Linked DNA regions of Homo sapiens: all the other regions are linked to region 1. Evidence: promoter capture Hi-C in 16 types of primary human blood cells and fetal thymus (Javierre and others, 2016). All regions are on one chromosome and are shown on one strand. Each heading gives the region's core, a stretch centred on a gene start or on the middle of the fragment in contact. The rest is flanking DNA. Distances are from core to core; before and after follow the strand shown. Region 1 holds the start of RGS10 (regulator of G protein signaling 10). Region 2 overlaps GRK5 (G protein-coupled receptor kinase 5). Region 3 overlaps GRK5 (G protein-coupled receptor kinase 5). Region 4 overlaps GRK5 (G protein-coupled receptor kinase 5).

Region 1 (6,949 bases), core at 3,090-5,589:
CAACAGAAATGAAGCCTTATGTATTTTTGTGGCATTAAACCCAGTAGAGATTTCAACTAGTCTCTAATTAGTGATTTTTCTCCCTGATTTAAAAGCACATACACTGCAGAAGTTTGCAAAACAGGAAAATGTAATGAAGAAAAAAGAACCCATTATCCTATTATCTAGAGATATAGTCTAGTAATATTTAGGTGTAATTAACTGCTAGCTTTCTAGGTATAAACATACCGTATTCTCCTCTTCCTCCACACTGAAAATTTTCTCTATATTTGTATCCTGATTTTTCAACGAGAGCTTCGTCTAAGATTCTTTCATCTTTCTCTTTGCACTAGTTTTTTCCACCAAGTTCCAAAGATTCTTCACAGTTTTTTATAACTGTTAAATATTCTATCAGGAGAATATGTTATACCTTAGTCATTCTCTTAGCGGGCATTTTTAGCTACTGTAAATAACCCTGATAAAAGGAAGTGTTATGTTTAATTGTACACGTAAATGTTCGCATCATTTATTGTTTTTCTTTTGGCACAAATTACCAATTATAGAATTATTCACTAGTCCAAGAGGTATAAACATTTTGAAGACTCTTACATGTGTTGTCAAATACATATATTAACACATCTGCTTCTCTTCCTTCTAGAGAGGTTGTAACAATTTACTTTCCCTCCTTCACAGTGTAGTAACAATGTGAACATCAGTGTTACTAACCCTGCCAATTTCCTATAATTGAAAAGAAATCCACTTTTGACTGGCTGTACCATAAAGTTTATCATTTATTAAAACATCATTGTAGGGGGAGTAAGAGTAATTAAAATTCCAGTAATTTTTTGTGTGCCTACATGTGCTGGGCACGATGCCAGATGCTTTTTTGTTTATTGCTATTGAATACCACTTGCTCGGAGTGTAGGTGGACCTCTCCTTGCCCTGTCCCTTGAGGCTACGATGTGTTTGAGGACACATCTGGTGTGTCCACACAGCTGGTTGCTGTTTGGTCAGATTAGTACCCAGGTCTCTTGACTTTAAGTTGGCCACTTATTCATTTTACTATACCTTGTCTGCCTCAACTGGCCTAGAATAGTCTTGTTACATAAATTCTGGTGATGAGAGGCTCTAAAATGTATTCACAGCTTACCAATATTTTAGTTTCTGGGTAGAATGAAAATATTGAACTCCAAAGCCAGTAATCCCTCTGAAATCTTGTGTTACCAGAAGACATCCGGGGCTCTTGCTTCTTGCCTGATGTAAACATCCTTGAACCAAAAGTGAGACCAGCAGGGGAAGAAAGGGGCTAAACCGCTCATCCTCTTCTTCCCCACACTGGCTACCGCAGTTTGTTTGTGAAGGCTTGACTTAGGAGGCTAAGGAGGGAGGATCACTTGAGAGCCCAGAAGTCAGAAATCAGCCTGGACAACATAGTGAAACCTCTGTCTCAAAAAAAAAAAAAAAAAAAAAAAAAAGCTTCAGAAAGTGCATGCTGGAATTACAGGAAAAATGCCATTGGGATGGTGAGCACCTTCAATCCAATGCAAACCACGGTTGGAACTTAATCGTGTGTGTGTGTGTGTGTGTGTGTGTGAGTGTGTGTGTGTATGTGTGTGTGCATTTGGCGAGTTTTAGGAGTTAGGAGGCTTTATACTTTTATACGTGGTCTTTTGCACAATACACTTTGAAAACTGGCTTTTGAACCTTCAGACACTTAAAACAGGTATTTATAGCAATTTCAATGTCCCAGGCAAAAATTTTAAACTGTGCACTTAAACGTTAACCATGCATTTTTTTTTTTTTTTTTTTTGAGATGGAGTCTTGCTCAGTCACCCAGGCTGGAGTGCAATGGCTCGATCTCAGTTCACTGCAAACTCTGCCTCCCGGGTTCAAGCGATTCTCCTGCCTCAGCCTCCTGAGTAGCTGGGATTACAGATGCCTGCCACCGCGCCTGGCTAATTTTGTATTTTTAGTAGAGATGAGGTTTCACCATGTTCGTCAGGCTGGTCTCGAACTCCCGACCTCAGGTGATCCGCCCGCCTTGGCCTCCCAAAGTGCTGGGATTACAGGTGTGAACCACCGCACCCGGCCTTTTTTTCCTTTTTTTGGAGACAGAGTCTTGCTCTGTGGCCCAGGCTGGAGTGCAGTGGTGAGATCTCAGCTCACTGCAACCTCCTCCTTCAGATCTTGGCTCACTGCAACCTCCTCCTCCCAGGCTCAAGTGATTCTTCTGTGTCAGCCTCCTGAGTAGCTGGGATTACAGGCACCTGCCACCAGGCCTGGCTAATTTTTGTATTTTTAGTACAGATGGGGCTTCACCATGTTAGCCAGGCTGGTCTTGAACTCCTGACCTCAGGTAATCCGCCTGCCTCTGCCTCCCAAAGTGCTGGGATTACAGACGTGAGCCACAGCGCCTGGCCCTAACTATGCATCTTAATTTTTGTACTTACTCTCTGATGTGCTAACAGGACAGTAAAAGTGATTTAAGGCTGTTATATTTTCCCTTTATTTAAGAGATGCCTGGGGTTCTTAGCTCAGGAGGGATTCATAGCATGTCTTAAGCCACACCAGTGTTTTTCAGGACACGCTAGGGTGGACTTGGCAACTAGCAAAACACTGAGCTGCTGTGCCTAACTTTTACCCCTGTGTGCCAGTGTGCTTATTTCCTGTCTTAGGATTACTTGTAATTTGGTCTCGGGGAAGTTTTCTGGGTGAGTGCGTTGCACCAATTCCCTTATTGTTTTAAGAACGCAGTGACCTCACTTGGATCCAGGACTCTGCCAGCATTTAAAATCCCGCTCTTACGAAAGGTGAAACTCTTGCCTATAGTTAAGTATCACAGCTTGATCCCATTACAATGAGATGGAAGTTTGTCTGGGCCCGGAGTAGGCCAACAACAGCAGTTTTAAAAGCAGAACTCCCCGCGCTGGGTCTAACCCTGTTCTTGGTCACCGCGTTCGCTTCAGGAGCCTGGAAATCCTCTTTTGGCAGCAGAAGGGGGAGAGTGCTTGGAAATGCTCGGAGGAAAACGACTTTTGGAGGGGGAATAGCGGGGAGGGAAACAACAAGCAACCACCGGCCACACTTGGGGTGCAACTGGGGCTGTGGGGTGGGTAGAGGGAGAGGGAAAGTGAGCAGAACTGGAAGCTCAGAATAGAAGATACAAAAGAAAGTGCCAAGTAGTGAAAAAAACTGCAAAAGGACGGGGGGATGGGGGGAGGGCGACTGGGGAACGGTTTGGAAAAATAGCAATTAGTACAGCTAAAAATAAAGACCAATTTAGAGACAAAGCCAGATACACAAGGAGAAAAATAAAACTCGCCAGAAAGACAATTTCTTGCAAACCAAATGTTCAAGAAAATGGGGGCTAATGACATCCCCTCTGGGGCTGCTCCATAGAAGAAATGAAATAATAGGAGACCGTAGAGCGCGCAGCGCCCAGCAGGTGACGCCGTGGGGGCTTGAGTGGTCCCGGTCGTGGAGCCTGAAGGCCCTGCCAGAGGCAGTGCCCACGTGTCCCCAAAGTTAGAGAAGTGTCCCGAGAGCGCGGTGTGCGGGACAGAGCACCGCCCGGCGCAGGAACCGGGGGGTTCCTGCAGAATCCTCTCAGATCTCCCCGAGTCCTGGCGCCCGCGCGGCACGGCCGGGGAGAGGGCGCCCACCCGCGGCGGCTCGGCTAGCTCAGCGCACGGGCCCTGGGGACGCCCCACCCGCATTCGCGGGGCGGGAAGGCGCAGCGCCCACGAAGTCGAGGAGCAGCCAGGCCCCAGCAGGCGGGGATCCTGGTGACGAGGAGGCAAAGGCCACAGGCTGGGCCGCGCCCGGACTCTGCAGAACCGCGAGGCCTAGGCTTCCCAGCCTGTGACCCGGGAGGGGACCCCGCCCGCCACCTGCGAAGGCTCGCTGAGAGCCCCGAAGCGCGGTGCGCCCGCGGCGCCGTGCCAGTTTCTCCGGGGCTACAGGGAGAAGGCGGGAGACCGCGATGGGCCCGGGAGCTTGAAGCTGGGCGGGGCGGGCCGGGGCGGCATCTCAGGCGAGGGCCAGGGACCCCGGGACGCGCTAACCGCCTCCGCGGGGCTACTAAGTTCCCGGCGGCGCGGGCTCCCTCTGGGCCAGTGCACCTTATCCCAGGCGCGGGGCACACTCTGGGCGATCGGGGGTCACCCGGGGCTGCCCTGCCCTGCCCCGCCCGGGCACCCCGGAGCGGAACCGCGAGTCCTCACCAGCGGGGGCGGGCAGGGCGCACTGAGCGCGCCACGCGGCGCCTGGCTAGGAGGAGGGCGGCGGGCGGGGACCTAGAGCTCCGGGGCGGTGCTGAGCCCGCTCCTCCTCCTTGCCCTCCTCCTCCTCCTCCTCGCCCTCCTCCTCCTCCTCGCCTTCCTCCGGCTCAGCCGCCGCGCCGCCGGGCTGCTCCTTCTTCCTCCTCGGGCGCCCGCGGCGATGTTCAACCGCGCCGTGAGCCGGCTGAGCAGGAAGCGGCCGCCGTCAGGTAAGCGGCTTCGGGGGCCCGCGGGCTCGGGGTCGGGGCGCCGTTTCGCCCGCCCGGCCTCCTGCCCTCCCTCTTGTGCTCGGGCGCGGCTCGGTGGTACCTCCCAGACTGGAGCCCCGGCCGACCGCACCACCTCTCCCCGCTGGGTACCGCACCTTCGCGGTCCCAGCCGCGACGGGAGCGCAGAGCTCCTCCGGGAGCCCCGGGGAGGAAGTTTGGCTGAAAGAGGAACAGCCGCAGTTTTCTTTTTAGTGATGGTCTGGGAGAAAAAGGAGCGCCCCAAATCTCCAAACTTTGGAGGTGACATGGGGCTCCAGATTCCGAAAGCGGAACGGCGCGCGGGCTTCTCCCTCCGTGACGCTCTCCGCCTCCGCTGCGGGCGTGGGTGGAAGGATGCCGAGCGCCCGGGGGAGCACGGCTGGACCCGGGCATCCGACTGGGCCCCTGGGCCTGGGGCGTCGGGGGCCTTCGCTTCTGCCGCGAGGAGCCAAAAGGTGGGATCGCGAGGGTGGCGGAACCCCAGGATGGAGAAGGGCACTTCTGCGGTCCGAGCCAGCGAAGTTCTGACGTTACGAAGGATTCGCCTTGGCCGTCACTTTGGGCCAGCCTGAGCCACGATCTCGGGCAACTTGATAGGCCAAAGACCCCACGGTGAAGGTGGAGCCGTGCCCTTGATTCCGGTCCTTCCACCCTTTTGCTCATCACAATAGCTACGACCTGTGCAGGCCTTTGGGTGCGCCAAGGGCTTTGTCCACCGCGTTGGGTGAACTCTCCCTTCACCCCTAGGACAACCCGGTGAGTGAGGAGGGAGCGGAAGCCAGGCGCTGTTAGGTAACTTGCCCCAGTCACACTCCGCAGGTGATGGGGAGGCTTTCAAACCCAGGTTCCCCTGACTCTGAAGTTCGGGGGCTTTGCCGGGCTTCCCACGCCAAGATTCACTTCTGCTTGGCGCTCAGAGTCCCAACGCGTTGGTGCATTTCCTTTCTGCTCCTGGTATTTTATGAGGGACATTGTGGTTTAGAGACTGGGACCAGACTGGCTGGATCCGAATCTCACCTTCGCCATATTCACCAGCCGTGGGACCTTTCTGCAGAATGAGGTTCTGCACAGTGGGAATAACAGTAGCTACTCGCCTTTTAAAGTACTTAATTGGAACCTGTCTTCCATCCATCAGGTTTTGCAAATTATTGTATTTAATATGTAGGATTTCATAGGGTTGTTGTAATGATCTTACATTGTTGCCCGGCAAGTACTAAGTGCTCCGTTAGCGTTAGTGGTCATGTAAACCTTTTTGTGTTGCATGTGAGTCAAAGAATTCCCTTGTGGGTGTTAATGTTAACCAGTCTCTATGGTTGGCACAGGCCTGTGGAGCGCTGCTCAGAGCCTGGACTCGAATTAAACTCTTGGTTCTAACCTTGACTCTGTCATTCAGCAACACTGGGCAAATTACTTGATCTCTCTGTGCCTCCGTTTCAGTGATGTGCTGGAGCTGGCTCAAACTGGCTTGCAAGAGCCAGTTGCCAAATATTCAAAAAGTTTGGAAACTGGTTGTAAACCATAGGTAGCTTGAAAGTAGTTATGATGGGATATTTACATCATGAAAATCAACAAAGCTAAAAATGAAGGCTTCATTTTGACTCAGGAGAGCTGATGTTCCAGCACCTTTCTCCACCTGCAAAGTGGGTTTCATAGGGTTATGGGATTAAATACTCAAAACCATATGAAGCCCCTAGTACAATGTGTGGCACATAATAAAAGTGTAATAATTAGTAGCTTTTCTCCCTTTTGCCTGTTATAAATAGAGCTGCTATGAATAGCCCTGTACGCGTTACTTATTACTTTAGATTGCTTTTGGGTTGAAGACTGACAGATAGAACCATTGTATCCTGGGAGATACATGGATTTGGGGTGATTTTGCGTGTAGCCAGGTTGCACCCCAAAAAGGCTGAAGGCAGTTTTAGGGAACAAATTATTTCAGGGCAACAAATTTTAAACCTCATAAAATGTGGTTACATCACTGACAGAAAGGTCGGTCTCAGGCCGGGCTCAGTGGCTCACACCTGTGATCCCAGCACTTTGGGAGGCTGAGGCAGGAGGATTGCTTGAGCCCAGGAGTTCCAGATAAGCCTGGGAAACATGGCAAAACCCCGTCTCTACAAAAAAATTAAAAAATTAGCCAGGCATGGTGATGCGTGCCTGTAGTCCCAGCTCCTTAGACGGCTGAAGTGAGAGGATGGCTTGAGCCTGGGAGGTTGAGGCTACAGTGAGCTTAGATCGTGCCACTGCACTTCACCCTGGGTGACAGAGTGAGATCCAAAGAAAAGGAAAGAAGGAAGGAAGGGAGGAAGGAAGAAAAAAGGAAGGAAGGAAGGAAGATCAGCCACTAAACATCATGGATTGGTACTGGATGCCTCCACTCCAATAGCCTGATTTTCTTTGGAATTGTAGGTGTAGGGTCTTTCCCCATTATGGAAAATAACA
Region 2 (6,949 bases), core at 1,118-3,617, 240 kb after region 1:
GAGGGGGCACACGCCTGGCCCATACGTCACAGATGACCCTACAGATGACTGTACCGAAGCAGCAGCGAGAGCCCTTGCCACACGCAGAGTTCTTCCCAGTCACTTCTACCATGAGCACACAATTTCGGCAGGGCTGCAGCATGACACCCATTTTGTAGATCAGGAAGCTGAGGCCGGGGCAGGGTGAGGCGTGCCTGGGGTGCGCAATCAGTGATGGGGGCCTGACCCTGATCCAGATCTGAACAGGAGCTGCTGTGGGCACAGCTCTAGTGCCCAAAGATAAACCCGGGCACTTATGTTCCTGCAAGGACCTGGGGAGCAGCCTTAGACCCAGCTCTGACCCTGCAGGTTCGGCCTACAAAGGCGCACTGGGCATACAGTGCAGACCCGCCATGGGTGCCCACTCCCAGGGGACCAAGGACGATGCCTGGAGAGGTGGGTGCTCAGATGGAGCCTCATAGAGGCAGGGTATAGGCTGGGGCCCCAGGTTCCCCATGACCCTTTCCCTCTGTCCTCTCCCCACCTCATTCCTGTGACACAACAGAGCAAGCTGGGGCAAGGCAGTGGGGCTTTAAAAGGCTTCCTAGAAAATGCTTCTTGAATTGTGAAATGGCCAAGGAGGGCTCTGTTGGCAAGATGAGGTTGTTACCCCTCAGAATTCAAAATCCAGTGTGTATGCAGAAAGGAGGGCTCGCCACCAGGAGACCAGAGTAGAGCATGGCTGCATGAGTTTCCTCTTGCTTCAGTAACAAGTTATTAACGGCACAAATGGAGTGCTATAGACACAAATGTATTATCCTACAGTTCTAGAAGTCAGAAGTCTGGAATCAGATTCACCGGGCTAAATCCAGGTGTCGGCAGGGCAGTGTGCCTTCTGGAGACTCCAGGGGAGAATCTACAGGCCACCTCTATTCCTTGGCTCAATTCATGGCCCTTCCTCCACCTTCAAAACCAGCAGTCGCTGGTCAGGTCTTTCTCAAGCTGCATCACTCTGAACTCCTTTTCACAGGCACAGTCCACTCTCCCTCTAATCAGGCCCACCTGATATCCCTGGATAACCTCTCCATCTCAACAGCCTTAACTTAATCACATCTGAAAAGGCCCTTTTATCAGGTAGGTAACATATTCACAAGTTGCAGGGATTCGGATACGACATCTTTAGGGGACCATGATTCAGCCTTAATCATGCAGTGATTAAGACTGCATGCTCCAGGGCCAGACTGCCTGGGTTTAAACCCAGGTATGTAATTTACTAGCTGTGTGACTCCAGGAAATTTACTCAACCTCTCTGTGCTTCAACTGGCTCCTCTGTAACCACATAGATATAGGCATCAATGAGCTGATGCACGTAAAGCATTTAGCATAGTTAAGAAAGTTCAGTGAATAAGGGCTGCAATTATCCCCTACTCTCCACCTAACTCAGAATGAATGACATCAGAGCTGAGAGGAACCTTGCTGATCACCCACGCCTGCTCCTCACTGACGGCTGGAGACACAGAGGCCCAGGGAGAAAAAGTGAGCCATCAAGGTCACACAGCATTTTTTTAGGCAACCCCCAGTACCCTATAACCATACCTAGTACAGACGAGCCCAAAGAAGCATCCCCCATGTCTCCCCAGTGCCCTGCACCCAGTAGACGCTAGAGGACACTGCACCCAGTGAGTCACCTGGAGGGAGAAGAGGGGAAGTGCTCCCCAGCAGAATGTCTGCAGGAAACACCTGCAGGTGCAGCGGCCCCGGCCAGATCCTCACACCCCACCCACCAGGCTCAGGGGCTCAGGCAGACGTGACACCTCTTTCCCCAGGAGAAGTCAGCAGAACAAATCTTGACTAGGGACACCAAAATCCATATTCGGGGCCAAGAGAAGGTGCTCTGCCCCGCAAGTGTCAGCCAGGACCCCGGCTTCCTTCCCTCGCTGTGTGATCTCAGTGTGGGTTTGGACACATCCCCACTCTGGGCTTCCATTTCACATCAGAAAACAGGACCTGGAATGGCTCAGTGGCTCTCAATCTGCAATCATGATCCAGGAGCCCCTGACCAAGTTTCAGAAAATCCTAGAAGAAGCGCACATGCGCCCCAAGCTGAAGCACACAGGAAGCTTGCTCATCCAGGCACTGAAGTTTATCGGTGTGTGCAGTTCAGGCTGAACAGACTCACACAGAGGTGTCTGCAATCAACAAAACGGGGGAAACAGTGACTCACCTCACACAGATGGCCTGTTAGCGGGCAAATTTCTCCACAAAAGGCGACAAGAATCACCACGGGTCCTTGGCAGAGCCTCAACTAGACTCTGCTGTTTCCAACCAGAGAGGACTGACTCATCCAAAAGGCTCCCCCCTCCCCCAAATCCAGCCCAGGCGGGCACTGCCCCAGTGGTTCAACTCCCTCACCATCACACAGTCCTCCAGCTGACACCCAGGACTCCCAGGGAGGCCTTCCAAGGGCTCAACACGGAGCCTTTCCATGGTCTCAGGGGTGGCTGAGAGCAGAGATACCGGAAGTACAGTGGTCAGGCCGTCACCTGCTTCCTCACTGGGAGTTATTTTCTGCCTCAGGGCCTTTGCATATGTCATTTCCTCTGCTAGATACACATTTCCAGAATCACTTTTTTGCAATGAAACATTTCAAGCTTACAGAATGGGAACAAAATTTCTTTAAACCTGCATACCCACAGGTTTTGTCAAAATAATTCCTCCATCCACTCTCCTGTTGAGAGACACGTAGGTTAGGTCTTCCAGGTTTTTACCTCTCAAATGACGTTGCTCTGGGCACTTACACGTGTCTCCCGGGGAGTGGCACTTTATTGCTGCCCCTACTTCACCCGGCCAAGTCCTCAGGTCTTAGGGTCTTGTCCTTCCCTGATCATCCCCAATCAATCAATCCAAGTCATACCCACACAGCTCTCTCCCACCACTCCTCAGTCAGTGTCTGGCTTTGAAAAAGCAGCTATCAAAATTTGTCAGCAAATTTTCACTTATGCCTTTATGGGGCTTCCACCCAAGAGGACAGAGACCACGTCCATTTTGCTCATCAGTGCCTAGGACATGTGCCTGGCACACAGCAGACCTCTGACATGTCTGTGAACGAGTGAATGCTTGAATAAGTGAGTGAGCAGAGGTGTCACCCCAGAAGCAGGTCATGTTGAGCCCATCTTCCCCCAGGTCTCTGAGACACACCTGACATGTCCTCTGCCGGCCCCTTGTTCTGTCAGCGAAGAGAGGAAAGGCAAGGGAGGGGACCACGGGTTCCCACAGCCTTGGAGGACCACGGGACTCTGGAGCTCAGAGCCCAGGGAGGTGGAAGGTCAGAGGCTCTAGGTCAAGTCCTCGCTGCCAACCACAAGGTGAAGCTCAGGAGACCTCATCTGGGCTTTCCTGCAGCTCCCCACAGCCAGACACCCAAGATTTTTCAGAAACAGGTGTCAGCAAAAGAAAAACTGCAGGGAGAGATGGAAAGAAGAGAAGGGAGGGGGTGGGAGAGGAGAGAGGGAAGGGAGAGATGAAAGAAAAACAGGTAGGGAAGAAGGAAGGGAAGAAAAGGAGGAAGAAAAGAGCAAGGGAGGGAGGGACAGAAGGAGGGAGTTGCCCAAACACCTCTCATTAAGCGAACAACTGCCTTTCTGCAAATGCCCTGCTGGTCCGCATCTGCGTGCACAGGGCAAGCATCTCTGGGTGGGGACTGCATGGGGTCGGTTCTCATGCCCTACCCCTAGACAGAGACAGGCACAGAGCCAGCCCTTGGTGGATGGCTGGTGAGCAGGCAGCGTGGTGCACTGGCGACAGTGTTGGGTGCTGGTTATAGACTCCCTAAATCGGGACTCAGGGGCCTGTGGGTGAGCTCAGCTGCTCGCTAGGTGGATGACCTTAGGCCAAAAGCTCTTTGAGCCTCAGTTTCTGCATCCACAAAATGGGAAGAAGAATGTCAATGTTGCCGCCTAGGGTTGTGAGGAATGACGGGGAAATGCACAGAAGCCCATGTGCAGTGAGCACTCAACAGACAGCAGCAAATTAGCCAGGCGCGATGGCACACGCCTGTAATCCCAGCTACTCAGGAGGCTGAGGCAGGGAGAATTGCTTGAACCCTAGGAGGCGGAGGTTGCAGTGAGCTGAGATCATGCCACTGCACTCCAGCCTGGGCAACAGAGCAAGACCCTGTCAAAAAAAAAAAAAAAAAAAAAAAAAGCAGCTCACACAGTTAGCATACTGCTGTTGCCCTGCTTTCCCCTCAAGGTTCCAGGTGGAGGTTTCCTTCCTCCACAGGCCACATCATCCCACTGCTCTGGTCCTTCAGCCAGGGCTGCTCAAAGCTGCCTCTTGGTCATGTCTCTAGATTTGTGCTGAGTCATTAAACACAGTCAAGATAAAGCCCAGGTTCTGAGTTTTCCAACATCCCCAGCACCAGGTAACACCACACCCTCCGCCTTCTGGATCCAGAAAGGCAGGTGAGTCAGCCCTCCCCAGATGATCCTGAAGACGCAGGGCCAGCACCACCCTGGCGCTTTAGGGTAGGCAAGGACCCTGAGTCTGGCTGTAGGGACACCATGCAGTGGGAGATGAGTGATCAAAGGAGCCCTAGTTGAGCCCCAAACCCAAGGGACGGCTGGGGTCCTTCACTTTCCCTCCCCCACCTTCCATGCCACACTGGATCCATCCCCAAGTCTGGGCTCTGCAGTGAAATCCATACCTGTCCCCCTCCCTATGGCCCCAGGGCTGCCACTGGACCAGGCCAGCATCCTCACCTGGACCAGCCTCCTCCCCTCCCACCTCCGTTCTTGCCCCTTTCAAACTATCTCCACCCAGCAGCCAGAGTTATGCAAACCCAAAGCAACTCATGGAATTCTCTCATTTGAAATCCTCTAATGACTTCCCAACAGGTTTAGAATCAAGTCCAAATGCCTCCCGTGACTCCCCCACAACCACTATGCCCCAGGCCCACACTCCACTCCAGACACTCTGAGCTCCTCCCGGCCCATGGAGACCCTTGCGGCTCATGCTCATCGCACAGCCTTCGCCCTGCTGGCTGTGCCCCTGCCTGACCATCCCTTTTCTGACAACTAGGTCTCAACTAATATGACCTCCACACACCCACACTTGGAGGCTCCCCAGGCCCCATCTAAGGTAACACCTCCACCTCCACTGAATCTATCTCATTCTCTTATCTAATCCTGCTACACCTCATCCACTACAGAGTACTCATCACTATCAGACGTTATTAGTTTACACATGTATAGATCGTCTGTTTACAGATATAACATGATCTCGTCCAACTAGCGTTTTACTCTCAATTCACCATCCTGCCCCCGGGGCAGACTCTGCATATGCCCTGGTCACTGCTGATCCTAGAACAATACCGGACACATGGCTCACCCTCCACGAGTGCACCTCTCTGCGCTCCTGCCCACTGTGCAACCTCACGAGGGTCACAGACCCTCTCTGAGCCTTGAGGTCCCGCCTCTCTAAAATGCAAGATATTCGATCCATCAACCTCTAAGCTGTCTTCCTTCAGGGATGGAGAAGGGGAGCAGGTGCTGTCACCAGCATCACCAGCACTACCTTTGCCCCAGTGACAGCGTGCATATACAGCAGTAGGGCAGAGGGTGATGTTGGTCACGTGGGGACAGAAGCTGCTCCAGAAGCCCCTGACAGAGAGGCCCCAGGGAACCCCAGGCCTCTGTGTGGAAGGAGCCTGCCAGGCCCCCACCCTCTCCTGTGGTTCCCAGGCTCTGCAGCCTCTGATCAAACACCTGGACAGTCCTGCTTTCTGGCCCCAAGAAGTATTTACATTTTGATTAAGTCTGGTTTGAAACCACCAGGTAGGCTGGCTTGAGGCCTGACAAACCCCAGCCAGTTGAACTGTAATAACAAGGTGCCCTGGGGAGCAGGTAGAAATGTGGGGCTGAGGGAGGAATCGCCACTCTCCAGAGGCCCCAGCCCCATCCTCCACCCTATGCAGCCTGCGAAGAAAAAGTACAACCAGCTCTTGTGATTAGAGGTGGTCACTGCTCCAGTGAGCCCCAAGGTTCTGCTCTGGAAATAAACAGCAGGGCAAGGAGCTCAGGGCACCACACCCAGATACGAGGAGCCTGCCCCCTGCCCTTGGGCTCCTCTGCCAGGTAGCATCACCCAGGAAGCAGGATGTAACCCTGTTTCAAGCTGGGGACTTGCACAAAGTCACATTTTTATCCTGGATATATTCTGAGGACTCTGCTAACAAGCTACCACTGTGAGGCCTCCACAGGCTGGGAAGAAGCCCAGTTATTCATTTTACTAGCTTCAAGTCTCCTTGAAAGTGGGATTCTGGAAGCAGTAAATGACACCTTAAAGGAATGTGGATTTCTGTGTCCAGAATAGCCACTGCCCCATCACCCACTCCCTGCCACCCCACCTGCAAGGGAAAAAGTCCAGGAAGCCAACGAATGCTTTAGAAATGCAGCGTTCCTTCATTGCTTGGTATTTTCATAAGAAATCAAGTCTCCTCAGCAGAAAGTGCAACTCTGCTTGTACCACCTGGCACTACAAAAGCAGAAAGATTTCATTAAGTGAATGAGCTCCAAAAAGATGGCAGTGGCTGCCGGGAATCCTGGAACTCAAGACAGGGTCCAGGCTCAATGAACAGGAGTCCCACAATTAGTTAGTAATGTCTGCCATTGGCCTGGCAGAGGAAAATGCTACCCACGATAAGTGTTTGCTGTTCAGGGATCAGAAAAGCAGCTAAAAGAGCACTTCCAGGAATTCAGAAAACCCACGGTTTGACTGGTAAGGAGGCGTGGTCAAAGTGACTCAAAAGGAGAGCCAGGGGCTTCTGGAAGACTAAAGAGAAAGCTGCTGGCAACTTCTTGGGCAGAGGACAAGACGCTCCTAGAAAGATCAAGTCACTTCCTCAGCAGCCATCGGATGGGGCGTGCTCTAGAGCCACCTCTGTGCTGTGGGTAACACCAAGCCTGGGCTT
Region 3 (6,949 bases), core at 1,425-3,924, 180 kb after region 1:
AGGCTCCTGCCTCTCACACAGGCTCCTCCCACTCATACAGACTTTTCCCACTCACACAGGCTCCTTCCACTCACACAGGCTCTTCCCACTCACACAGGCTCCTCCCACTCACAAGGCTCCTCCCTCTCGCACAGGCTCCTCCCACTCACACAGACTCCTCCCACTCACACAGGCTCCTCCCACTCACACAGACTCTTCCCACTCACAAGGGCTGTGGCCTGAGCTCTGAGAAGCCACCCACTAAGCGCCTCCAGAATCCCACCCAGCCCCGTGTGCCATTCCAAGGCACAACTAAAGAGAAGCCAAAGGCACACTACACACCCAAGAAATGGACACAAGCTCTGGCTCTGCTTTGGGGCAGGGCTGGGCACTGTGGTCTACAGAGAGGAAACATGAGAAACAGGAAGTTCTACCCAAAGAGCAGAGTCCTTCAGCCTCCTTCAGCCTCAGCCTCCCTCAACTTCCTTCACCCCCTCAGACTCTTCAGCCTCCCTCCCTGCCTCCCTCAGATTCCCTCGGCCTCCTCAGCCTCCCCCTATCTCCTCAACCTCCCTCCACCTCCCTCAGTCTCCCTCCACCTCCCTCTACCTCCCTCAGCTTCCCTCCACCTCCTCAGCCTCCTCAGCCTCCCTCCGCCTCCTCAGCCTCCCCAGCCTCCTCAAGCCCCCTCAGCCTCCTCAATCTCCTCAACCTCCCTTCAGCCTGCTAGCCAGGTACCCACTACGACCTCACTCAGGACCTGAATTTGCCCCGGACTCTGCATGGGACTTGCTGCATGAACCCACACCTCCCCCCCGGGAACATCACTGTCACTCCAGAAACACAGGGATGGCAGAAACTTGAATGTTCTAAGTGTGGCAATGCACATTCCCCCGAACACCTGCATCCAGGGTGTGAACCAAAGAGGGGACAGATACCGGATGAGGAAGGCAAGCGAATTTATACAAAGGCCACTGTGTGAGATGCAGTCCCAACTTAGTTCATCTTAACAAAAATTACCCTCCCACAGCAGCCAGGGCCACAGCATCTGGGGCAGCTGCCACATGCAGTGGTCCCCTCTGCAGGTCTTTGCTCTGAGGAAGGCTTCGTGGGTGCTCAGCTCGATTTCTGGCCTTTGTTGCCTGGCCCTGCCCACCTGGGATCCCATTCCCTTCCACACGAATGACCTGGAAACACAACCTGCTTTGCTGCATCAACCCACAGCTGCCTTGCTGGGCCACGCAGGACCCGGAGGCTCCCCTCTTGCCATAACCATGGAGAGAAAGTGGCTCCTGGAAAACAGCTACAGCTCATCTGAGTTACTGGTGTGGATTACATGTGGGGTTCCCTGAAATAGGCCCCCGTAAGGGCATGTACTGCCCCCAAGCCCTCTCGTGTGTACACACATCTCCTCCAGGAAGCCTTCCTGGATTGCCCCAGCCCCACCCCTGGCCTCTGGCACAGTCTCTCCAAATGGCTCCTCTGATGCACAGCACCAGCAACCCCCCTGGTGTGACCTAGGGGACTCCAAACAGTGGAGGGGGCTCAGGGTGTGTTATGAACTGAACTGTGTTGTCCCCAAATTCATATGTTGAAGCCCTAACCCCCAATGTGACTATATTTGGGGGTGGGGCTTTGGGGAGGTAATTAAGGTTAAATGAATTCTTCAGGGTGGGGCCCTAACTGATAGGGCTGGTGTCCTTAGGAGGAGAGGAAGAGACACCAGAGAGCTCAGAGGAAAGGCCGGGCAAGGACATAACAGGAAGACAGTGGATCTACAAACCAGCAAGGGCAGAAGCCAGCCCTGAGGCACCTGGATCTTGAACTGTGGCCCCCAGAACTGTGAGGAAAGAAATACCTGTTGTCTAAGCCGCCCACTCTGTGGTATTTTGTCATAGCAGCCTGAGCAGACTAATACAAAGTGGATGATCCAAAGAGCAAGGCTTGAGGCTCAGTGCTGCCATTTACAAGCTTGGTGACCTCTGAGGAATCCCTGGGCCTTAGTTTCCTGGTCTCTAAAATGGGGCTGCTGACTCTGCCCTGCCTGCCTCCCTGAGAGGCCTGTGGAAGAGGAGCAGATGAGGGCACAGACAGGACCATGATTTGGGAGATGGAAATGCACCATGCACGCCTCAATTCCTGGGGGCAAGGGGACCAGGACCAGGAGAAGGCGGCCAGGCTGCCGGGTGGAGGGCCTGGGTGGAGGCATGAGATGGATACAGGTCCAATCCTGGCACCACCACTCAGCATCTGGGCAATGCCAGTCAAATCACATGGTCAGAGCAGCTACTATTTGCAGAGCATTTGCTACACCCCGGGCATAATCACTCTGTGCCCTTGGCTGAGTAATGGGAGGGACTCCTGTTCCTCATGGGTGACTGTCAGACAACATCCGAGCTAGGACCAGCCATGCATGCTGCGTGGACACCCCAAAACACTGCCACCCTTGCCCTCACCTACCTGTGGCTCAGGGACTCTCACTCGTGCTCCAGGAACTCAGGCAAGCTGGCCCCTTTCTCCCTCCCCACTGCACAATGGGGAAACCAGCCGGGGCCTTAGAAACAAGGGGCCAAGCCATTTCGGGCCATCCGTGATTCCATCCAAGGCTCACATACTTTCCATACTGAGGCCTCTCCCCTTTGGGTGTGATTGATGCAGCCACCCCGAGAGGACCAGGATCTGCTCAGCAGACGCTGCCCACCCCTGGCTTGGGAGGCTGCCGCTGCACCTTGTCCAAAACTCAGTCCCTGTGGGGTCAAGGCATCCGAGTCAGGAAGCGTGCCCCACCACCCACCCCCACCCTGCCAATGGCATGGCTAATGTTGGAGAAGACCAGAGACATAAAGGGGGCACAAAGGGAGGGAGACTTAACTACGTGGCCAAGAATGCAGGCAGCAGAACAAGAAGTGGGGAGTGAACCTGGGGACAGCCCTCTTGCATGGAAAGAAGCTCATGCAAAGCTGTCAATGGTGGGGCCAGCAGGCCTGAGTGTGAGCCGCTATTGCTATTGTTGAATGGACTTCAGTCAGAATTTCCCTGGCACCTGGATGCAGGCCTCTGGAAGGCAACCAAGCCAACAACAATCCAGACTAATGCTTCCCCCACTCCACTCCCCAGGAGCAGGCAGCAGGAGGCAACCAGGAAGGCACGCACCAGGATGGAACGATATCCACCAGGGTTACCCGCGTCTCATTATCAGCCACAGCCTTTCCAAACATCTCCCTGACCCCCGCTCCCATGAGGGGCTTTACCACAGGTGCCTCAGCTTCCACTTCCCTGGGAACAGAACTGCAGACACAACACAGGCCCTTTGGAAGGCACCTTCTCTAGTGCTGAGGGAATTTGCCTAGAGCAAGGGAAGGCCACAGCCCACCCTACCCCCCATTTGTGACTTTATCTTTGGAGCATAAACAAGCTTCATCTGCACTTACAGTTATTCCTTACCCAGCCCTGCTCTGTCATTAAAATGAGAAAAAACACCATTTCCAGATCACTTTCATTACTTTGATAGGGCAAGGCATCTGGCATCACTTCACTTCGCTTGGGCTCCAGGGTCCAGTTGGCCCCCAGCCACCTTCACACCTCACTTTGTTAAGAATTTTTTCTTCCCTAGCATGGGCCTCACACACATGCTGTTCTTTGGTGGGCAAAGACATTCCCTGCCTTCTTTGACAATGCCATAGAGGTAGCATGAGATAGCTCAGCACTGGTCAGTTGCTAAAGAGAGGGCTGGCACAGCAAATTTTAGTAAAGCAAAGCCTTTATCGTTTTATCAGTTTTGAGAAGGGTTCCTATATGAGAATACAAAGCCTCCTGTAGATTGCATTGAAAACTTGTGAGAAAAGGGATCGGTAGTGGCTTGGGCTGAGCCTGCTAGAGACTGAAGCATACAGAAGGGCTGCAGTTCTGTTTTGTTGTTGTTGTTGTTCATCTTCTCTATTCTTGGCATCTCCTTGTGGATGGTTCTGGGGCACACATGGGGTTAAAGGGCAGAAGAGGAACTGGAAGAGCCCAAAGCCTGTGTAAAGTTGGATTTAGGTAATGCTGGATATAGAAATCCAGGCACAGTAAAGGGGCTGATCTTATTGGGCATCAAGAAGATAGACAAACAAGACTCTAGCTAGCCCAAACTCAGAAATCAGACAGGATGCCAGAAATCAAGAAAGCATGAGCCACGAACATGGTAAAAACATAAAATTCTGGGACTAGAGACTGATTCTATAAAGTCTTTGAATTATTTCTTATAAGTCCAAGGTGATTGTGATTCTACTCTATGCTCCAGATTCCCTGATGGACCACTAACATTCAACTTAACTAAGGAAGAAGGTCTAAGCAAATGAACTGTCATTATATATTTTGTAAATTGCCCTCCACACCCTGAGAATTTGTTTTGTCTAAGAATATCAAATAATGAAATACTCTGCCTGACAGAATGTGCTCTTATCTATGTCCTTTAGTCTGAATACAGCATTTACTCTTGCTAGTCCCTGGTTTCATAGAGCTGGGTTGTAATACCATTGTTGTTCATTAGGTGTCGCTGTCTAATGCAATGTATGCATGACCCAGTCTTGATCCTCCAGATCAGGGTTCTTAGGCCTGCAGAATGTATTATTATCTTACTTTATCAGCTCTCTAGATTTAAAAGTTTCTATCTTGAGTTATCTTAGAGTGAAAAAATAACTATATAGCATCGGTTGTTTCTCAGGGCTCAGGAAATGCTATTTAAGTTTCACTGTTTCTGTTGTCCTTTTCTTCCCTCTACTGCAGTGACTCTGAAACTTTATGGACTCAGGACACCTTGATACCTCTACAAATTATTATAGATCCCAAAGGAGTTTTGTTGTTGTTGTTGTTGTTGTTGTGATAGAGTCTTGCTCTGTCACCCAAGCTGTTGGAGTGCAGTGGCTCAATCTCAGCTCATTGCAACCTCTGCCTCCCAGATTCAAGCAATTCTCCTGCCTCAGCCTCCTGAGTAGCTGAGATTACAGGTGCATGCCACCACACTTGGCTAATTTTTGTATTTTTAATAGAGACAGGGGTTTCGCCATGTTGGTCAGGCTGGTCTCAAACTCCTGACCTCATGATCCACCCACCTTGGCCTCCCAAAGTGCTGGGATAACAGGCGTGAGCCACCACACCTAGCCAGGAGCTTTTATTTATGTGGGTTATACCTTTTAATATTTTCCACATTGGAAAACAGAACTACCACATGACCCAGCAAGCCCTCTTTGGATATATACCCAAAGGAAATAAAATAAGCACCTCGTAGAGATACCTGTACTCATATGTTCATTGCAGCATTATTTATACTAGCAGTATTATTTATACTAGCCAATATATAGAAACAATCTAAGTGTTCATCAACAGATGAAAAAATAATGAAATTGTGATATACTGTTGGCATTCCTTATCCATGGATTCTGCATCTGTGGATTCAACTAACTATGGATCAAAAATATTTGACAGGAAATGGATTGTTGTGTCTGCACTGAACATGTACAGACTTTGTATTTTTTTGTCATTATTCCCTAAACAATACAGTATAACAACTATTTATATAGCATTTACATTGAACTAGGTATTAGAAGTAATCTAGAGATGATTTAAAGTATACAGGAGAATTACATTGGTTATATGCAAATATACTATTTTATATCAGGGACTCGAGCATTCATGGATTTTGGCATTCTCGGGGAGTCCTAGAGCCAGTCCCCGATGGATACCAAAATCCATGCATTCTCAACTCCCATAGTTGGCCCTACAGAACCTGAGTATATGAAAAGTCAGCCTTTCCAATACTCAGGGTTTTGTATCCCTTGAATACTGTATTTTCAATCCATGTTTGGTTGAAAAAAATCCTCATAAAGGTGGACCTACACAGTTCAAACCTGTGCTCTTCAAGGATCAACTGTACAATGGAATATTATTCAGCCTTAAAAATGGAGGAGATGGGCTGGGTGCAGCTGCAATCCCAGCACTTTGGAAGGCCAAGGTGGGAGGATCACTTGAGCCTAGGAGTTTGAGACCAATCTGGGCAACATGGCAAAACCCCGTCTCTACAAAAAATACAAAAATTAGCCAGGCATGGCGGTGTACACCTGTAGCCCCAGATACTCAGGAGGCTGAGGTGGGAGGGTCAATTGAGCCTGGAAGGTCGAGGCTGCAGTGAGGCATGATTGCGCCACTGCACTCCAGCCTGAGTGACAGAGCAAGACCTTGTCTCAAAAAAAAAAAAAAAAAAAAAAAAGGAGATGTAGGGCACAAAGTTGCAGTTATGTAGGATAAGTCTAGAGATCTAATGTACACTATGAGAATATGAGAACTATAGTTAATAATATCGTACTGTACACTGGAAATCTGCTAAGAGAGTAGATTTTAGGTACTCTTAACCTTTCTGCCCCACTCCACGGACAAAGGTAACTATGAGAGGTGATGCATGTATTAATTTGCTTGACTGTAGCAATCATTTCACTAAGTACATATATAGCAAAACATCATGTTATCTACCTTATAGACATTTTTTTAAATAAAGAAACCCTTGAGATCACATGTATTTCAGAATTCAGAACTTATCAGATTTTAGAAATATAATCTATATATGTCATATATATCAAACATCCCCAAAATCAACATAGTAATATTTCTACAGAAAAATGAATGAAGTCACACTAATAAAGTATAAGTCACCTCAAAAAAAAAAAAAAAAAAAAGAAAGAAAAAATGGATTGCCCTTGGTGGGGTGGCTGCCATTTTGTTTCCCTCATATACTGGGTACTTCCAGGACAAAAGTGATGTGGGGAAAAAAGACATTTCCAAACAGCACCTGCAGCATCAATCTAAAAATAAAACCAGTAGCAGTGATGTCATTGCTAAAAATAATGCTTAGATGTACAATGACATTGTCAGGTAGCTGGTCTGGGACCTCTGGGGCCCCAGCACCTTTGGACACCTCTGCTGAGCTGACTGCTTT
Region 4 (6,949 bases), core at 2,426-4,925, 150 kb after region 1:
CACCTCAGGATGTGAGCTCGCCAAGCGTGGCTCCCCAGAGACATGAGACAGGAGAGCTGACGGGCCCATGGAGGGCAGCTTCCAGAGCTCCCCTCAGTGTTTCATTCCAACCAACTCACATTGATCGAGAACCATGTGTCCAGCGTCATGCTGGGGCGGGGACACAGAGAGCAGATGCCACTGTCTCCATCCAAAATGAATTCCCCTGCCTCTGCCGAGAGCAGGTGGACCTTCCCACGGCCCTCATCCTGTGCTCTGTCTTTCCTGGGGACACCCCCATACACCCAGAGACTCAAGACAAAAGCCCAAGGGCATCCTCCTTCTGCCGTTTCGCAAGGCCCTTTGTTCCTCCCCATCCCCAAGGCTGCTGGCCCAGCTTGGGGACCTGGGGCTGTTCCCCAGATGGCCTCTTGCCTCCAGTCCTTCCTCATCCCCCTTATTCCTCCTCCATGTGGTCAGGGAGATCGTCCTAAAATACAAGTGGCACTCGAAGCACTGGCAACTCCACACTGCTGCCACCTCAACATGGCTTCCCAGGGCCTACAGCTCAGAGGGGCCCCCTCCCCATTCCCACCCCCACAGCACTGCCCATCCTGTGCGCTTTCCTACCTCTGTGCCAAGGTTTCTCAACCTCAGCCCTATTGACATTTTGCCCCCAGGTAACTCTGGGTAGGAAGCTGCCATGTGCACTCTAGAATGTTCAACGGCATCCATGGCCTCTACGCATCAGATGCTAGGAGCACTTCCCTCCCCCACAATTCTGCCAATTACAAGTATCTCCAGATAGCCCCAAATGCCCACTGCACTGCACCCATGAAGGCCGCTCCTCCTTCCCCTTCTTTTGTGTCCAGCTTCCTCCTCCACATCCTTTAAGATCTGATTCAGCAGCATCACCTCCTGGAAGCGTCCTCTAGCTCACCTGACCCCACACTTCCCTGAGCACAGCTCCACCACTGCTCCCATCGTGGGGCATTTGGTTAATCTGCTTATGTGTTGGCCCTACTCTGAAGGTGGGCTCCTCAGAATCCCCATCATGGGGCACAGAATCACAACAATGGAACAGTGTGCTCAGAGACCACCCAGGTGAGGCCAACGGACTCTGACAAGAGGCAGAAGAGGCTCTGTGCAGCTGGGGATGTTGGAGATGACTGCAGACAGTGGTGCCTGACACAAGTGTCCTCAATACATGCAGGGATACAGAAGCGAGAAAGACAGAGTAGGGGACAGCGCCTTCATAAAGGGCCTTCTGGGGCACAGCCTGAACAAAGGCCACAAGGTATGGACATCCAGGTGAGCCTAGGAAATGGTGTGGCCACAGTCCAGTGTGAAGCCACAGGAGAGGTCCCAGGAAAGGATGCTGGAGCAGAAGGAGGTGTGGGCGTGAGGCTCTTGGATGTGTTCTGTAGCCCAAAGTGTGCTCAGCAGAATGGAAAATTGAAAAAAAATTATGGTCAATAACTTTGAGAAATGCTTTGGTAACAGTTAAAGAGGTTTCTTTCTTGCAGGACTTCTCAGAGCCTTGAATATGCTCACATGCTGAGTGAATCTACCGGGGGAGACATGGTATTACAGTGCTGCCCACGTGTAATTGACCACTGAGGGTTCTTTTTCACAGAGCTTCTCCACTGGCCACTCTCCTATGGTCTACCTTTTGGGAAGCACTGCTCAGAGCTGAGACACACAAGCTACATACTGAGGAGGGGTCCCAAGGCAAGGACAATCTGGGCTTGGGGACAGTGGCTTTGCAGTTGGTCAAAGTCTTCTGAGCCAGTGCTGGGGCCTCAGTCACTCGCTCAGCTCCTCAGCCAGCACCTTGCTTCGCTGCATCTGGGGCACTGGGGCACGTGAGAGGTAAATGAGGCTCCAGAGCAAGCTGTTATGGGAAGAACTGGGAAAGCAGTGCAAAGTTTATTGTAGGGAAACAGCTGACCCAAGGCATGGATCAACCACCTCCCCTGGAGGCCTCCCTGGCCGTAACATATGGTGTGGCTTAAATTTTTTAAATTGAGGAGAACTTAAGGGAAAAAATGCTGGCAGGCTCTGAGGCACTTGTAAAACCGTCTGAGCTGATGGGGGTGTCTGGGCCCCATCCCTCCAGGAGATGGAGGCAAGGCTGAGCAGAGCTAGGGAGGTCTGGAGAGCTCAGGTCAGGGGCTGCCAGCAGGGGCTTCTGGACAAGGTTGGCCACGGGGCAACCCGGTGGCAGCCCTCAGTGGCTGCCCCAGTGCCTGCCTGTACCCTGTTCTTGGCTAAGCCACAAGAGCCTATCCAGACAGCAAGGTCAGGCAAAGGGAGCACTCCGCCCTCACTGCAGATCAGAGCCAGGCCACAGACAGTGGCAGGACAGTGAAGCCGGGTGAGGAGACTACACCCAGGGGAAACACTCAGGGCTCTAGAATCACCCAGACTTGGGTTCAAATTCTAGCTCCGCCACTCACTAGTTGTGTGACTTGGGATGTGACAGCTCCCCTGAGCCTCTCCTTCCTTATCGGTAAGATGGAACAAATATAATCTGCATCCCACAGTGACAGCAAGGACTATAGACAGTGGTGCCTGACACAAGGAGTCCTCAATACATTCTAGTTGCCATTGTTTGGGGGGGACACATGTGACTGGGTAGCCCTATGGGGGCACAGATGAAGCGCTGGACTGGGCCAAGCTGAGCCACCGTGGGAAGATGCCTCTGCAGAGGGTAGCTGAAGACCCCTTCAGCAGAGTGGCCTCTCACGCTATTCAGCTCTGTGGCCTCAGTGGCCTGTCTGTAAATAGGGCAATCTCGTGGATACGCGAATCATCAGAGACATCTCGGAGGCATGTGGCACACCATAGGAGCCCAGCCAGGGAGCTGTCATCATTATGCCCTCTAGGGTGCATGCACCCCTTTAAGCTCAGGGCATGTGTTTATGCCCAGAGTGTCCACACTATCTTGAGTGGTGGCCAGGAGATCAAAAATGTATCTAGCCAGAGCCCCACCAATATGACATCGGCTGCGACTGGGTGAACAGGGACCCTGCTGAGAACGTCTCCTCGTCTGTGTCCACCTGAGAACCTCACAGACAGCAACAGGCCCATATCTGGAGCATAGCAAGGCCCCCAAGGTGGGGGCAGCTGTGCCTACCCAGGGCCACACCTTGTCCAGAGCAAACTAGCCCTATTCTATGCCTAGAAGTGTTTTATAAACATAAATTCTGTCATTTCTGAAAAGTGCAAAAGGGCTGGGGGTGTTTGCAGTTCACAGAAAGAGAAGTGCATGGATTATGATGGATGCAGCAGAGAAACAGCAAGGGGAGGCAACAAGGTGATGGCGACTGTGTGCGCATTAGGAATGCCGTCTAGCAGGCTGTCCAGAGTGGGGCGTGACAAAGGGCAACACTTCTGGGCGTGAGGCTGGTCTCACCCTGCAAGGGCAATGGCCACTACCAACTGCTGATGCTGGAGAAGAACGAGGGCTACATTTGGTGCAAGAGGTGCAGGAGGTTGAGGGGACTGATGGCCAAGACCTTCCACAGGCTGTGGTGACCTCAGTCCACTGGCAGCCTGGGATGGGCACCAGGAGGTATACTCTTCCGGGGAGCTGGTTGGCCCACAGGGTCCTGAGCAGGGTGAAGCCACCACTGGCCCCGGGGGATGGGACACACGCAAAGCTATTCCCACACAGGTCCCATCTCAGGCTCTCAACACCTCCGGGAGGTGAGTCTGACAGGAAGGCCACTTTTAAGAAAGGGAAACAGAGGCCCAGGGAGGGAATGTGGCTTGACCAAGTGGGCAGAACCACTGACACTAGAACACTAAATGGGTTGAGAACACACTTCTGTGAAGGTGAGTCAAGAGGAAGCAGATCTTGGAGAACCGAGGCTGCTGGACCCTGAGGACAATGGTACCCCGATGCTTCAACTATCCAGTGGGTGGCCCCGAGGTGGGGTCGGGGTGGCCCCTGACCCTTCAGAATACTCCAGAATATGTTTCAGAATTCTCTTCATTCTTTGATGTCGTTGGGCACCCCCTTTCCCTCCCAGTCAACCCCCAACACTTCCCCTCCACGCTGACCTCTCAGAACTGCCCTGCTAAGCCCTTCCTTCTGGGCACTTCTCCTGAACTTGGCCAGGCCTCCATCTGCCCTACCACAAATGGTTGGGTGTGGGCACACAGCAGCATGGTGACCCTTGAAGGGGCTGGGCCCCAAGAAGCAGGCATCCCGCCCCTACTCCAGTCCTGGCCTAGACCATCCCCATCTTGGCCCTGCCAGGCTTGGGCACTCTCTGGGGGAGGATGGGAACTGTGATCTCAGGAGGTCAACAACAGCCACCAGCCCAGCACTTAACAGCTCCCCATGTGGCCTGGCACAGACTTAGGGGCTCCTATTTTTGCATAAGGCCTCCTGTGCCACCTGCTGTGGGGTTTGGAAGACTCCTTACCTTTGGGGTGAGGTACTTGGTCATAATTTCCTTCCCTTTCTCTCCCAGTTTTTCATCTGGAGTAACTTCATATTCTGCCTAAAACAGAAGGAGAAAAAAGAACAATAACAGGTTTGCTCATGAGCTTCTTATAGTTACAGAACCTCACAGCCCCTGGAGGAAATCCCCTAGAGGCCACCTGACCAACCCCCTTCTCCTGCAGGTCAGGAAACCGGGGGGGAAGACCTGGCCACGGAGCCCCGATGTTTAGTCCAAACTACTTTGCCCTCTCTCACAGATGCTGGGTCTCAGGATGGCGGTGCTCCATGCAGACTGCACATCAGAATCAGCAGGGAGCCCTGAGCAAACACTGATGCTAGGCCCCACCCTAGACCCATGAAACCAGGCTTTCCAGTGGGCCATGAGGGCTGGCACCTGGGCAGCCGGGGTTGAAGACCACTGACTTAGATGAATCAAAGGAAACTACCAGAAAAATAACAGCCCACCAGACTGGAAGGCTGCCGAGAAGCTGCCTTAGGTCACTCAGACCTTGTAAGCTGTGTGATCGTAGACAATTTGCTTAACCCTTCTATAAAACGCAGATGGTACCAGCACCTAGGTATACACTGATTATACAGACGGAAGTGATCAAGCTCTTGGCCTGGGGCCTGGCCCATCATAAATAATAATAAACAGTTGCTATAGTTACCGCCATTGTGATTATTACACCTTGCAAGGATAAACAATAATGTGGATGCCTGGTCTTTTCCAGCTTTTCAGTTTACAAAGTGAACATACACAGGTTTTTTAAGATGTTCTTATCTGAACCTCGAAAGAGCCAGGGCAGTGACGCAGGAGAACAGGGGCTGCCATCCCAACCCCTCGTCTGTAGGTGGAGATCCCGAGGGCCGGCGGTGGGAAGGGACTTGCATAGGGTCATGCAGCGGGAGGTGGCAGGGCTGGGACTCGAACCTCCAAGCGCAGGGCTTCTCCTCAACCACACCACAGAATTTAGGACTCTGATAACTAGCCAAGCCAGGGGGCCCAAGCTCTAAAGATGGGAGGTCTCCAAAAAACAGACTTTTTAATTTCCCTGAATCCCAGAGGGGCTCCTTCGCTCACATCTGACGCACTCGCCACATGGATAAAGGGCCTCGAGTCAATAAAAAGCCTGAGTAAGCGGCCCTTTCTCATTTAGACAAAAGAGCTAATTGCAAATTGTTTATAACCATTTCAAAATCCACCACCCAAGGATTTGTCAGCCTCTGTCCAAAAGTACAGCTATTTCAAAAGAGGAAGGAAATGACACCAGCATAGACGGACCCGAACTCCTCCCCAGGCGTCCCACCATGCAGTCAGATGCCCAGCCGGCCCTCAGGGAAACTTCACACCTCAGTGTCTAGGGTCCGATTCCTCCCAGGCCAGCCAAAGGGAGCACGCAGGCGGCACTCGCAGTGACCACAGAGGCAGCCAGGCTCGTTTCCAACCACAGTGAGCGAGTGTCCTTGTCTTGCCCTCTCTCTTCTAATGGAGAGCCAAGATCCAATGATTTTCTCCCATGAAGAAACATGAACACTACAATCATTTAGATCACAGGGAGATAGGGCAGTGGTTCTGTAAGGAATCCCACCCCTCATTTTATAGGGCTGGACACAGAGGCTCAGAGAAGTCAGGGACTTGCCCAAGGTCCAAGGTCACAGCTGCTGGACTGGCGCGCTGGCCTCTGGATTCCCACTGCGCCGCGTGGGCAGAGCCTCTCCCCAGAGGTCAACTCCTCTTCCACATCAAGATGAGCCTTGAGGGACTGGGCACTTCTTGATGATTTGACTCGAGAGATGAATTCCTGAGATGCTTTAAGGTGGCTCTTTCTTCTTGACTTTTTCCTGTTATTTTCTTCCTCTGTGCCCCCTGTCGCTCTCCTAAACCTGAGTGCACATGTGTGCACACACACGTGCCCACAGACACAGATACACACACCCACACACACACCCACACACCCAAACATACACGTGCCCACACACACACAGATACACACCCACACACAGACACACACACACCCAAACATACACGTGCCCCCACACACACAGATACACACCCACACACACCCACACACACGTGCCCACAGACACAGATACACACACCCACACACACACCCACACACACACCCACACACCCAAACATACACGTGCCCACACACAGACACACACCCACACACAGACACACACACACCCAAACATACACGTGCCCCCACACACAGATACACACCCACACACACCCACACACACGTGCCCACAGACACGCAGATACACACACCCACACACATCCACACACGTGCCCACTAAGCAGATACACACACCCATACACGTACCCACACACCCCCACACACATGCCCACACACAGACACAGATACACACACCGACACCCACACACACCCACACACCCACATGCCCACACACAGACACACAGATACACACACCCACGTGCCCACACAGACACACAGATACACACCCACACACACGCCCACACACACACAGATACATCCACACACAGACACC

What was found. The method cuts DNA at HindIII sites, captures the fragments that hold promoters and counts their contacts. A CHiCAGO score of 5 or more calls a contact.
Region 2: a contact is called between a fragment that was not itself captured here and the fragment with the promoter of RGS10 in region 1, in 4 of 17 cell types (non-activated CD4 T cells, naive CD4 T cells, total CD8 T cells and 1 more). The highest score is 9.6, in non-activated CD4 T cells.
Region 3: a contact is called between a fragment that was not itself captured here and the fragment with the promoter of RGS10 in region 1, in 1 of 17 cell types (activated CD4 T cells). The highest score is 5.4, in activated CD4 T cells.
Region 4: a contact is called between a fragment that was not itself captured here and the fragment with the promoter of RGS10 in region 1, in 1 of 17 cell types (non-activated CD4 T cells). The highest score is 7.1, in non-activated CD4 T cells.

The regions. Positions count from the first base shown.
Region 1 is chr10:119,540,109-119,547,057 of GRCh38, reverse strand. RGS10 (regulator of G protein signaling 10) reads left to right here and starts at 4,339. Exons shown (of 5, transcript NM_001005339.2): 1 at 4,339-4,468. The coding sequence starts at 4,420. RefSeq lists enhancers at 2,576-3,084, 3,347-3,426 and silencers at 3,637-3,796, 3,847-3,916, 3,927-4,666, 4,717-4,886. The HindIII fragment of the contact is 10,649 bases long and covers 1,458-6,949 here.
Region 2 is chr10:119,301,518-119,308,466 of GRCh38, reverse strand. The region is part of intron 1 of GRK5 (G protein-coupled receptor kinase 5); the gene reads right to left. Among named protein-coding and RNA genes, the nearest start is that of GRK5-AS1, 34 kb to the left of the region's middle. RefSeq lists enhancers at 1,811-1,910, 2,321-2,400. The HindIII fragment of the contact is 531 bases long and covers 2,102-2,632 here.
Region 3 is chr10:119,353,673-119,360,621 of GRCh38, reverse strand. The region is part of intron 2 of GRK5 (G protein-coupled receptor kinase 5); the gene reads right to left. Among named protein-coding and RNA genes, the nearest start is that of GRK5-AS1, 18 kb to the right of the region's middle. The HindIII fragment of the contact is 1,444 bases long and covers 1,953-3,396 here.
Region 4 is chr10:119,394,239-119,401,187 of GRCh38, reverse strand. It overlaps GRK5 (G protein-coupled receptor kinase 5), which reads right to left. Exons shown (of 16, transcript NM_005308.3): 4 at 4,416-4,493. Among named protein-coding and RNA genes, the nearest start is that of MIR4681, 20 kb to the right of the region's middle. The HindIII fragment of the contact is 9,117 bases long and covers 1-6,949 here.